2 separate regions of the Homo sapiens genome follow, and region 1 is linked to region 2. The links are contacts of gene promoters, found by promoter capture Hi-C in blood cells and fetal thymus (Javierre and others, 2016). All regions are on one chromosome and are shown on one strand. The core of a region is centred on a gene start or on the middle of the fragment in contact, and the rest is flanking DNA. Distances in the headings are between cores, read along the strand shown. Region 1 has its middle 57 kb from the start of EBF2. Region 2 holds the start of GNRH1 (gonadotropin releasing hormone 1).

Evidence for each region. The method cuts DNA at HindIII sites, captures the fragments that hold promoters and counts their contacts. A CHiCAGO score of 5 or more calls a contact.
Region 1: a fragment that was not itself captured here is called in contact with the fragment with the promoter of GNRH1 in region 2 in 1 of 17 cell types (total CD8 T cells); the score reaches 5.2 in total CD8 T cells.

The regions. Positions count from the first base shown.
Region 1 is chr8:26,099,494-26,105,102 of GRCh38, reverse strand. No RefSeq gene overlaps it. Among named protein-coding and RNA genes, the nearest start is that of EBF2, 57 kb to the right of the region's middle. The HindIII fragment of the contact is 153 bases long and covers 3,425-3,577 here.
Region 2 is chr8:25,421,882-25,427,962 of GRCh38, reverse strand. GNRH1 (gonadotropin releasing hormone 1) reads left to right here and starts at 3,702. Exons shown (of 4, transcript NM_001083111.2): 1 at 3,702-3,762; 2 at 4,632-4,773. The coding sequence starts at 4,633. KCTD9 (potassium channel tetramerization domain containing 9) reads left to right here. Exons shown (of 12, transcript NM_017634.4): 12 at 1-116. The HindIII fragment of the contact is 12,746 bases long and covers 2,577-6,081 here.

The DNA.
Region 1 (5,609 bases), core at 2,252-4,751, 680 kb before region 2:
AATCAGTTTTTTTTTTTTTTTCTCATCAATGTTATAACAAAGTGATGTTGAATGAAACAACATTATCTGAGGACTTGCTGTATGGATTTCTTGTGTCCTGTGTAAAATCTTTGCCAACTACCAGATCACGTTTTCTTCTAAAAGATTTATAGTTTTAGTTTTTATGTGTAGCGCTATGTTCCAGCTCAGGTTTTGTGCATGATGTAAAGTATGGGTCAAGATTATTTTATTTTTCTCGTACAGCTGTTTAGATGTTCCAGCACAATTTGTTGCAAAGACTATTTCTCCTGCATTGAATTATCTTGAGACGTCTGTAGAAAATCAATTGACTATACGTGTGTAGGTCTATTTCTGTTCTCTTGTTCTGTCCACTGGTCTTTATTCTTTTTTGTTTGTTTGTTTGTTTGTTTTGTTTTGTTTTGAGTCAGGGTCTTGCTCTGTTGCTCAGGCTGGAGTGCAGTGGTGCGATCTCAGCTCACTGCAACCTCTGCCTCCTGGGTTCAAGCGATTCTTGTGCCTCGGCTATCTGAGTAGCTGGGACAACAGGCATGTGCCACCATGCCTGGCTAATTTTTGTATTTTTAATAGAGACAGGGTTTTGCCATGTTGGCCAGGTTGGTCTCGAACTCCTGACCTCAAGTGATCCACCCTCCTTGGCCTCCCAAAGTGCTGGGATTATAGGCGTGAGCCACCGCGCCCAGCCTCTGTGTCTATCCTTATGCTCATAACACATTGTCTTGATTACTGAAGCTTATGGCAAGATTTAAAGTCAGTTATTGTAAACCTTCAAATTTTGTTCTTGTTTTTCAAAATAGTTTTGGCTATTCTAGTCTTTTCCATTTCCACATAAACTTTGGAATTAACTTATCAATTTTTACAAAAAAGTCTGCTGACATTTTTATTGGATTTGCATTATATCATGTAGATCATCTTGGGGATAATTTACATCATAGCAATATTTAGTTTTAAAATTTATGATATGGCATAACCCTCCAATTATTAGGTCCTTAATTTATCTCAGCAGTGTTTTAAGGTTTTCATTGTGTAGGTTTTATCCATATTTTGTGCATACTTATCTTCAAGTATTTCATGTTTTTTGAAGTGTACAATTTAGTGGCATTAAGTATATTCACAATGTTGTGTAACCATCACTACTATCTATACCTCACATTTTTATCTATAGCTATGAATTTGCCATTCTAGATACCTATTCTAAGTGGAGTAATACAGTATTTGTCTTTTTATATTTGGCTTAATTCAGTAAGCATAACGTTTTCGAGGTCCAATCCATCCATGTTATAGCATATATAAAAGTTTTGTCTTTTTATAGTTAAATATATGCCACTATACAAACATACTGTAATTAATACTGTATTTTGTTTATCCATTCATCTGTTGATGGATACTTAACACTGTTTCCACATTTTGTCTATTGTGATTAATGCTGCTGTGAACATTGCTGTGTAAATATCTGTTCAGGCCAGATGCAGTGGCTCATGCCTGTAATCCCAGCACTTTGGGAGGCTAAGGCAGGAGGATCACTTGAGGTTAGGAGTTCGAGACCAGCCTGGCCTACACAGTGAAACCCCATCTCTACTAAAAATACAAAAAGTAGCTGAACATGATTGCGGGCACCTGTAATCCCAGCTACTGGGGAAGCCGATGTGGGAGAATCACTTGAAGCAGGGAGATGGAGGTTGCAGTGAGCTGAGATTGCACCACTGCACTCCAGCCTGGGCAACAGAACAAGACTTCGTCTCAAAAAAAGAATCCTATATCATCTCTATCTCTATCTCTATCTCTATCTCTATCTCTATCTCTATCTCTATCTCTATCTCTATCTCACCTCTATCTATCTGTATATCTATATCTATAAATCTGTTCAGGTCTCTGCTTTCAATTCTTTGGATATATACCTAGGAGTAGAATTGCTGAGTCATATGATGATTCCATGTTTAACCTTTTGAGAAACCGCCCAGCTGTTTCCCACAGTGGCTGCACCATTTTTCTTTCCTACCAGAAATACAAGGTTTCCAATGTTATCTACATCTTCGCCAACACTTATTATTTTCTGTTTTTTTTCTTAAAATTTAAAAATTACAGCCACTCTAGTAGGTGTGAAATGTTATCTCATTGAGGTTTTGATTTGCATTTCTCTAACGACCAATGATGTTGAGTATCAGTTCATGTGTTTATTGGTCATTTGCACATCTTCTTTGGAGAAACGTCTATATGAATCCTTTGCCCATTTTTGAATTGGGTTATTTTTGTGGTTTTTGTTGAGTTGTTTATATAATTTGGAAATTAATACTTTATCTGATAAAACATTTTCCCCCATTCAGTAGATTGTCTTTTTTGCTTTCTTGATAGTATCTTTTGATGCACTAAACTTCTTAACTTAATTGAAGTACAGTTTATCTATTTTTTCTTTTATTGCCTGTGCTTTTGGTGTCATATCTAAGAATCCACTGCCAAATTCAAGGTCATGATGATTTACTCTGTGTTTTCTTCTAAGAGTCTTACAGTTTTAACTCTTAATTTTAGGTCTGTGATTCATTCTGGATCATTTTTTATATATGGTGTCTAGTAAGAATCCAATTTCATTCTTTTGCATACGGATATCTAGTTTTCCCAACACCCTTTGTTCAAAAGACTGTCTTACCCCATTAAATGTTTGGACACCCTTGTTGAACATCAATAAACATATATGTGAGGGTTTATTTCTGGGCTGTTTTATTCTGTTGGTCCCTATGTCTGTCCTTGTGCCACTGTTATATAGTTTTAATTATTGTAGCTTTGTAATAATTTTTGAACAGAAAGTGTGAGCTTTCCAACTTTATCTTCTTTTTTAGGATTGTTTCGGCTATTTGAGACTCCTTGCAACTTGACTCTTTTAAATCATTAAACCAACTTTGCATTCCTGAAATAAATGTCATTTACTCATAACATATTATTCTTGTAATATATTGCTGGCCTTGTTTTTTGGATTTTTTTGCATATTTTGTTGATGATTTTGCATCTAAGTTAATGAGGGATAGGTTGTAGTTTCCTGTTGTTATGAAATCTTTGTCAGATTTTGGTATATGGGTGATACTATCCTCATTGAATGATTAGGATATATCTGCTTCTCTTCTATTTCCCAGAAAAGCCTATGAAAGATTGGCATTATTTCTTCTGTAAATGTTTAACATAATTCACCTAGGAAGCCATGCAGGCCTGGAGTTTTCTTTGTAATTTTAAAATTTTGAATTCAATTTCTTTTATATATAGGGCTATACAGATACTCTATTTCCATTTGAAACTGTTTTGGTAATTTTTATCTTTTAAGAAATTTGTTCCATTTATCTAAGTTGTCGAATTTATTAAGTTATTATCCTTTCTATATTTTTAATTTTTGTACGTGATTTATCAACTTTATTAAGCTTATAAAAGAGAATCAGTTTTGCTGTTATTGATTTTTTTCTGTACTATTCTTCTGTTTCTATTTCATTGATTTCTGCTTTTTTATATTCTATTCCTTATACTTACTTTGGGTTGAATTTGTTCTTCTTTTTTCTAGCTTCTTAAGATGGAAGCTTAGACCGTTGATCATATACCCTTTTTTTTGTCTTCCAAAATAGCATTTAAAGTTTCAAAACTCCCTTGGAGCACTGCTTTAGATGCATCCCACAAGTTTTGTGCCTTGTGATTTCATTTTCATTTAGTTTATTAACTATGCATTTGAGATTTAAAAGATATCTTCCTGTTACTGATTTTCATTTTCTTTTCTGTTGTGGTTAGAGAATATATTCAGTATGGTTTTAATCTTTAAAATTTGTTGAAACTTGTATTATAGCCCAGCATATGTTCTATCTTTGTGAATGTTTCAGGTGCACTTAAACAAAAACGTATATTCTTTTGTGGTTGGGTGAAATGTTGTATAAATGTAAATTGATTAAATTGCTACATAGTGTTTTTCAAGTCTTTTATCTCTTCAATAATTTTTCCATGAAGTTGCTCTAGTAATGACTGAAGAAAAAATAATCAACTCTTTTTCTCTAATTGTGGATTTCTTCTTTCAATCTTTTGAGGGTTTTTATGTTGTTGTTGTTTTGTTTTTTGCTTCGTTTATTTTGAAATATCTCTTTGGTGCAAACACATTTAAGATTTTTTTACAACTGAATGATAAGTAGTTCTCTTTATTAATATGAATTTTTTTCCCTCTAGTAATAGTCCTTGTTCTGAAATCTACCATGTCTCATTTTAGTGTAGCCATTCCAAGTTTCTTTTGTTTCATGTTTGTATGATATCTCCTTTATCCTTATGTGAAGGAGTATATTAATTTTTGAATGTTAAACTTCTTTATATTCCTGGGATAAACCCCACTTGGTCATGAGGTATTATCCTTTTCTTATATTTCTGTCTTCTACTTGCTAATGTCTAAAAAATCCTGGTCTGTAATTTTATTTTCGTGGAATGTATGTTGGATATTAGCCTATGATTTTCTTTGCTTTCAATGACTTTTTTTTAGGTTTTAGTATCAGTGCTATGCTGGCCTCACCAAATGTGCGGTGAAGTGTTCCCTCTGGCTGAAAAAGCTGTTAAGACTAGCATTAATTGCTTAAGTTTACCAAATTATCTGGGCCTAGAGTTTTCTTTGTAGAAAGAATTTTCATCACAAATTCAATTTCAGTGATATCAAGCCATTCTTTCTATATCTTCTTGTGTCTGTTTTGGTGAGTCATATTTTTCAAGGAATTTGTCCACTTCCTATAAGTTGTCAAATTTGTTGTCATTTAGCCATTAATAACATTTTCTTATCACTTTATTATCTCTGAAATCTTATAGTGTCCTCTCTTTTTTCATTGCTGGTAGTAACTTGTGTCTTTTTTCTAATTTTCTTACTCAATCTCGATAGAGATTTATTAATCTTATTGATATTTCAAATAACCAAATTTTGGCTTCCTTTTTTTCCTACTTTTCATTTCATTAATTTCTGCTCTTTATTATTTCCCTATTTATACTTGTTGTATTCATCTGTTCTCATGCTGCTAATAAAGACATACCCAAGACCGATTAATTTATAAAGAAAAAGAGGTTTAATGGACTCACAGTTCCAGATGTTTAGGGAGGCCTCACAATCATGGTGGAAGACAAAGGAGGAGCAAAGTCATGTCTTACATGGTGGCAGGCAAATGAGCGTGTGCAGGGGAACTGAACTTTAAAAATCCATTAAATCTCATGAGACTTATTCACTTTAAGAACAGCACAGGAAAGACCCACCCTGATGATTCAATTACCTCCCACCAGGTCCCTACCACACGTGGGGATTATGTGAGCTACAATTCAAGATGAGATTTGGGTGGGAACACAGCCAAACCATATCACTTGTTTTGCATTTAATTTGCTCTTCTAGCTTCTGAGGATGGAAACATAGCTCATTAATTTTAAACTTTTCTTGTTTTCTAATATAAGTCTTCAAATTTCCCGGGAATCAGTGCTTTAGCTATATCTCACAAGTTTTTATATGTTGTGTTTTCATTATCATTTAGTTAAAAAATTTTAAAACTTATTTCATTATCTTATTTGGTCATTGAGAATATGCTGTTTAATTTCCAATACTTAGGAGT
Region 2 (6,081 bases), core at 2,453-4,952:
ATATGTGTTGACAACCAGCCCTGTGGTTCTGGGTAGCAAAGGAAATACAGTATAACTTAATTTGTTATGGATTAGTCTTTTTGAAAGTACCATTAAAGTAAATTTATTTCTTTAAACATGATTATTTTTATCATTCTTTTAAAAATACACCATGCTAACAACACAAACCTTATGAATTCTGAACAAAAGAAAAGACTGCCTCCCCAATAATTCGTTTAATTTGTTTGTGTTAAATTCATCACTCTTTAGGTGATGAATATTACCAGTTAGCTTTATTAGACTGGATAAATAGCATGCCCCAAAACATTTTTTGCCTGATAACTAGGATAGAGAATTTTAAGGAGGGAAGAAACCGTTAAAATAGTAAAACTTCCATTAACCCTAGAGATGAAACATGTCTGTACACATAGGTAAAAATACAGCTGTTGGGATGACAGGAAAAAGGTTTTAAATCAAAATTAAACTAGCTGGATTATCTGCATTAATAAAATTTGGTACTCAACTAAGCAATACTATCTATTGTAGTCTAGTTCTTTCAACTATAGTCTCAAGGAAATTCTGGTAGAAAATGTTGTAAATTAATTATTCTTATGAAGGGTTCAATCATAAATCAAGACTTGGAATATTTTCTCCATTTCATTTTATGACTCTTATGTGTACTGTAAATCTGCCCTATGTCAACTTTAAATCATCTTTAATATATGGAAAAAACTTAGAATTGCACTAAGTAAGTCCCCAAGGAAGAATTACCTTTAAAATTAAAAGGTTCATTACTACAAAGAAAAGTGGTTACATTATTTCAGTATAAAGCACCTTATCCAAGGATTAATTCTCTGAAACCCTTTTACAACCTGATTAGACATGTCAGCAGGAGTTAACCTTAAGTGCTTCCTGCTGAGATTTTACATTAGGGCAAGAAAAGATTTTTTTCATCTGTCATTTCAGTGATATTATGAGATCATCGCTGTAATAATTTTGAGGTGTTTTGATGTTGATGAAGCAGTTTTTTCTCTAAAGCCATTCTTTCAAATTTAGAAAAAAATATGACAAATATAAAATCCAATTATTTAAACCCAATTTATTATATTTAACTTTTTGATAAACTGACCTAACCATGGAATCCTTAAATGGTTTTAAGTTTGTCATTCAATATCAAAAACTCATTAATTGCATAGTGGCTTGATAACCTATTTGGTGCTATAGAAAGTAAGACAAAACAAAGTTGACTCTTGCCTTGAGATCTGTGTGACCTAAGACAATGCTAATGGAGACTTTAAGGACAACAGCATATTGGATGAATTCATAGACCATATTTGTGATGGTTAATACTGAATATCAATTTGATTGGATCAAAGCATGCAAAGTATTGATCCTGGGTGTGTCTATAAAGGTGTCGCCAAAGGAGATTAACATTTGAGTCAGTGGGCTGGGGAAGGCAGACCCACCCTTAATCTGGGTGGGCACCATCTAATCAGCTGCCAGCAAATATAAAGCAGGCAGAAAAACGTGAAAAGTCTAGATGGGCCTAACCTCCCAGCCTACATCCTTCTCCTGTGCTGGATGCTTCCTGCCCTCGAACATTGGACTCAAAGTTCTTCAGCTTTGGGACTCAGACTGGCTTTCCTTGCTCCTCAGCTTGCGGACGGCCTACTGTGGGACCTTGGGATCGTGTGAGTTAATACTTAATAAACTCTCCTATGTGCGTGTGTTTGTGTGTGTGTGTGTGTGTGTATGTATTCTGTCCCTCTAGAGAATGCTGAGTAATACAATATTGCTGTGTTCATCTTAATAATTTCAAAACATTTTTCAAAAATTTAATCCCAACTGTTAGAAATAACCTACAAGAAATCCAGTGAGGCCTACCTACCCAGAGATAAGTGATTCACCTGACAATATGCATCACAAGTCTTAACTCTCATTTCATTAGTCCTATCCAGAGACCACATTTTCTACTTAAGCAATACTTAGAGGCACATCTCTCAGCAAACACAAACCAATTGGACAATTTAAACTAGCACTATTCAACCATAATGAACTCTGGTTGAAAAACAGTCTGTCCCTACTTGCATATTGTAGTGAGATGAGATTCCACTCTTCATGTCAGAATGGCACTTACATGAGTCAAAGTGTCTAAATGAAATAATTTAAATGGAACAAAGTCAAATACTTACATTTTATTTTTAAATTCTCCTCTATTTGCAGTTATACTTTAAAGTGTACTCCCTTCTCTATCCTATCATGAGGACTGGACAGCCTCCACAGAGATGGCTGGACAAAGCAAGGGAATTTACTTAGGTAAGACACCATTTCTCTTTACTCTGAAATCCCTGCAAATGTAGTTATTCCAGAGGAGACTGTGCAATGACTGATGGGTTTAGCATCCTACATGAGGGGAAATTGCCATTCCCAGCTGTAAAATGAACAAATATCCAGTTATTTTTTTTAGCCATCTTACAGCTTAGCTAATATAACAGGATTTACAGCCAATTATACATGAAAGTTTAATTCTGTGTCAGATAAAGCATATCTTTGATGCAGAAATAGAGGCAGCATTAGGCCTTACCTGGTTAAAAGCTTTTTGCTTTCTATTCATTCATTCGTTCATTCATTCATTCAAACCTATACTTACTGAATGCTCACTAAATGCCGGGGGTTTATTAAGAGAGATTTAAATAAGATGGGATCTTTGACTATTACAGGTTTCAGCCTAGGGGTAAATTAGGGGAAGACAACCATGTATTCAAATAAATGTAATTAAGAGTAATGGTTGTGTGTGTATTTTACATGCTTGTCCTGTGTAAATAACACGTCCACGGTTGCACCTCTGGGGTGGAACATCTATAAAATTTAGATAATGATACCCACTTTGCATGGCTATTGTAATGAATGCTCTTATACATTTGCTATTTATTAAATAACTATAATTTCTCATCTTTCTGTTCCCACTGCCCTTAAGAGTGATTTGCATATTTAACTCAATAAGCATCTACTGAAATGAGTTGATCTGTTGATGTAAGTCTGCTCAATATGGTCTTGCTCTCAGAATATGTTTCTTGCCTTTTTGATGCTTTAGAAGGCTTTCAAGGTAAGTCAAGCAGGGAACCTGGTGGGTAGATGAGGGAATTTTCAAACACACAACTGTCTGATTTAGGATCCTACATGGACTTGGTATATAGTGTCACTTACTTGTAAATCAGATTTTTAAAATTGGAAGCAACTCTGTGATCATCTAGTCCATCTAGTCTACACCCTTCCTTTTACAAATGAAGAATCCAAGAGCCAGAAGCTCCCAGACATCCTGACTCAATGTCCTATATTTGTTGTATAGCCTCCTTTGTGGAAGTTATGTATGCATTTGACTTCACTTAATCTAAGACATCTATTTTCCTTGAACTCTTGATAGGTCTGCTGGTTTCCTCAAGGGAATCCAATCTAGCTGGATTTTAATCTCTTTGAATTGTGTCCTCAGCTATAAAAGTTTTAGCTGAGGTTTTAATGGCTGCACTTAAGTAAATCTAACAGATATACCAGGGGGTGTTCCAATTACATACACCATTAAAGGGCTTTATGTGAGGATTTTTAAAAATTACCATTAAAAAAAAAAAAGCATAGTCCATTTGCAGTATAATTTACCAGCAGGAAAGATTTCAATGTCCTGGAAAAATTCCCTATAAAAAGGAAGATAGGAAAACAGAAAAGTCACAGTACTCAACCTACTTCAAGGGAAGATTGGGATCTTTTTGGCTCTCTGCCTCTAAACAGGTAAAAGGCTTTGTATTATTTCTAGCACGAGTTTTTCTTCTTTAGATTGCATGCTATTGTATGTCTACAGGGCATTTGACAGCCCAAGGGCTAAATCCAGGTGTGACGGTATCTAATGATGTCCTGTCCTTCACTGTCCTTGCCATCACCAGCCACAGAGATCCAGGCTTTGGGGACTCCCACAGCTTATCGACCAGTGTTTGATTTAGTTTTTAGCCTCTTTCCCATCAAATGAAAATTAACTTGGAGACACATTTCATTAGAAAATTAGAGGCCCCCTTGGCTAGGAAGGCATCTGGTCTGGGACTAACTACTTTGAACAGTGTTGAGTCCTCTCTCCCACAGATGGTTCAGCCAGCAGTAATGCTAGGAAGACTGAAGGATAAATAGAAAAATGTCATTAGTACCATGGGGTAGCCATGTAATGTCAAGCAATTTTATATTAGCCAGAGATTCCTAGTAGGAGCTACTTTTCTTAACAGATGACTCAGTTCTCTTTATCTCAGGAATGAAAGAGTTGAAGACCAATCCACAACAGGGGAAATGTTAAGGCAAAATGATGAACTTGATAAGGGATGAATTATGGGGTTTGGATAACCAAACAATAAAAATAAAAGTATAGACTATTTTAGTACTAAAAAGGTCCTGAACATGTGAGCTTAAGTACTCATTTTGTCCCCAGTGGCTAAGAAACTAAAGGCAAGCCAGCAAGTGTCTCTGAGTTTCAGTGTCTGTATGTAAAAACTGACTCTGACTTCCATCTTCTGCAGGGTTAGTGATACAGATGCTAGCTTTTTCACTAAAGAGGTCTTTTAGTTTATACTCAACCTTGTCTGGATCTAATTTGATTGTGCATTCATGTGCCTTAGAATGAAGCCAATTCAAAAACTCCTAGCTGGCCTTATTCTACTGACTTGGTGCGTGGAAGGCTGCTCCAGCCAGCACTGGTCCTATGGACTGCGCCCTGGAGGAAAGAGAGATGCCGAAAATTTGATTGATTCTTTCCAAGAGGTAAGTTTCTCTCAGCTTCAAAATAAGACATAGTGATTTTATTCAATTTAACTATATTAAACATTCAGGATAGCCCCAATGTCAATATTCTATGATGTTGTACCCTAGATGCTCCAGGTGAGATAAGGCACTTACAAAGTAGAAGTCCCATTCCTACTTTCAGTTCACACAGGGACTAAACAAAGAGCTGGAAAAATTCCAAAAGAATATATTAATAGCAACAAGTGTGAGACAGCACGTCATACTCTGAGTGTATGGGATTGCTAAAGGAATTAGAAACAATGGGATAGGGTCAAGGTCTGTATCAGAAGATGATTCTTTGGGATTTGGAAAAAACGTTAGAACTTCGTTTTTTTTTTCCTCATTTCATCTTTTAAACATATCTATGCTATTAGATCAGTACATTTTTATAATTTATAAATGAGTATCCTTATCAAGGATGCATGCCCTATAATTTCTTTTCACTGATAGGGGCATTTAAGCAAAGTTGGAGACTGGTAGAATACAGGAATTAGCAAACTCAAGATGATAAGATAACGTAGTAGAAAACATGCTGATTTAAATTCATATAGATTAGATTATAGGACTGGCACCAACACTAACGTGAGGTACTTGCTTTCTTGTTTTTTGGGGTTATTTTCTAAGACAGGGTCTCGCTGTGTTATCTAGGCTGGAATTTAGTGGCACGATCACAGCTCACTGCAGCCTTGACTTCTTGGGCTCAAGTGATCCTCCCACCTCAGCCGTCTGCATAGCTGGGACCACAGGCATGCACTATCACACCCAACTAATTTTTAAAACTTTTTATAGAGATGGGGTTTCCCTATGTTGCCCAGGCTGGTCTCAAACTCCTGGGCTCAAGGGATCCTCCCACCTTGGCCTCCCAAAGTGCCGGGAGGATTTTTGTTTATAAAATATGACCACTCATCAGGGTCATGTAAGGAAAGAAGCCATCTATGTTAGCTGATTAACCTGAAAAATAACCTAGGACTGAGAATGGGAAAAATTTTAAATCATTTCATTATCATTGGAAGGAATTATCTCTTTTCTGAGAAATAATAAAGATAATTTAGTATTAAAGAAGACCCAGAATCTGAAGCCTCTTCTCTGCAGGTTATACATGAAGCAAATCTCATTGAACTATAACATATTTAGTAAAACCTAGAAAATAAAAACCAACCTTTTTTTACAACTATAAACTCTTGGGGGTTTTTTGCTTTTTGTTTTTTTGGGTATACTGACTCTCATGAGGCTCAAAGTGCCTCCCTCTTTTCATCTTTAAGGGGAAAATATGATATCTTCTTACTG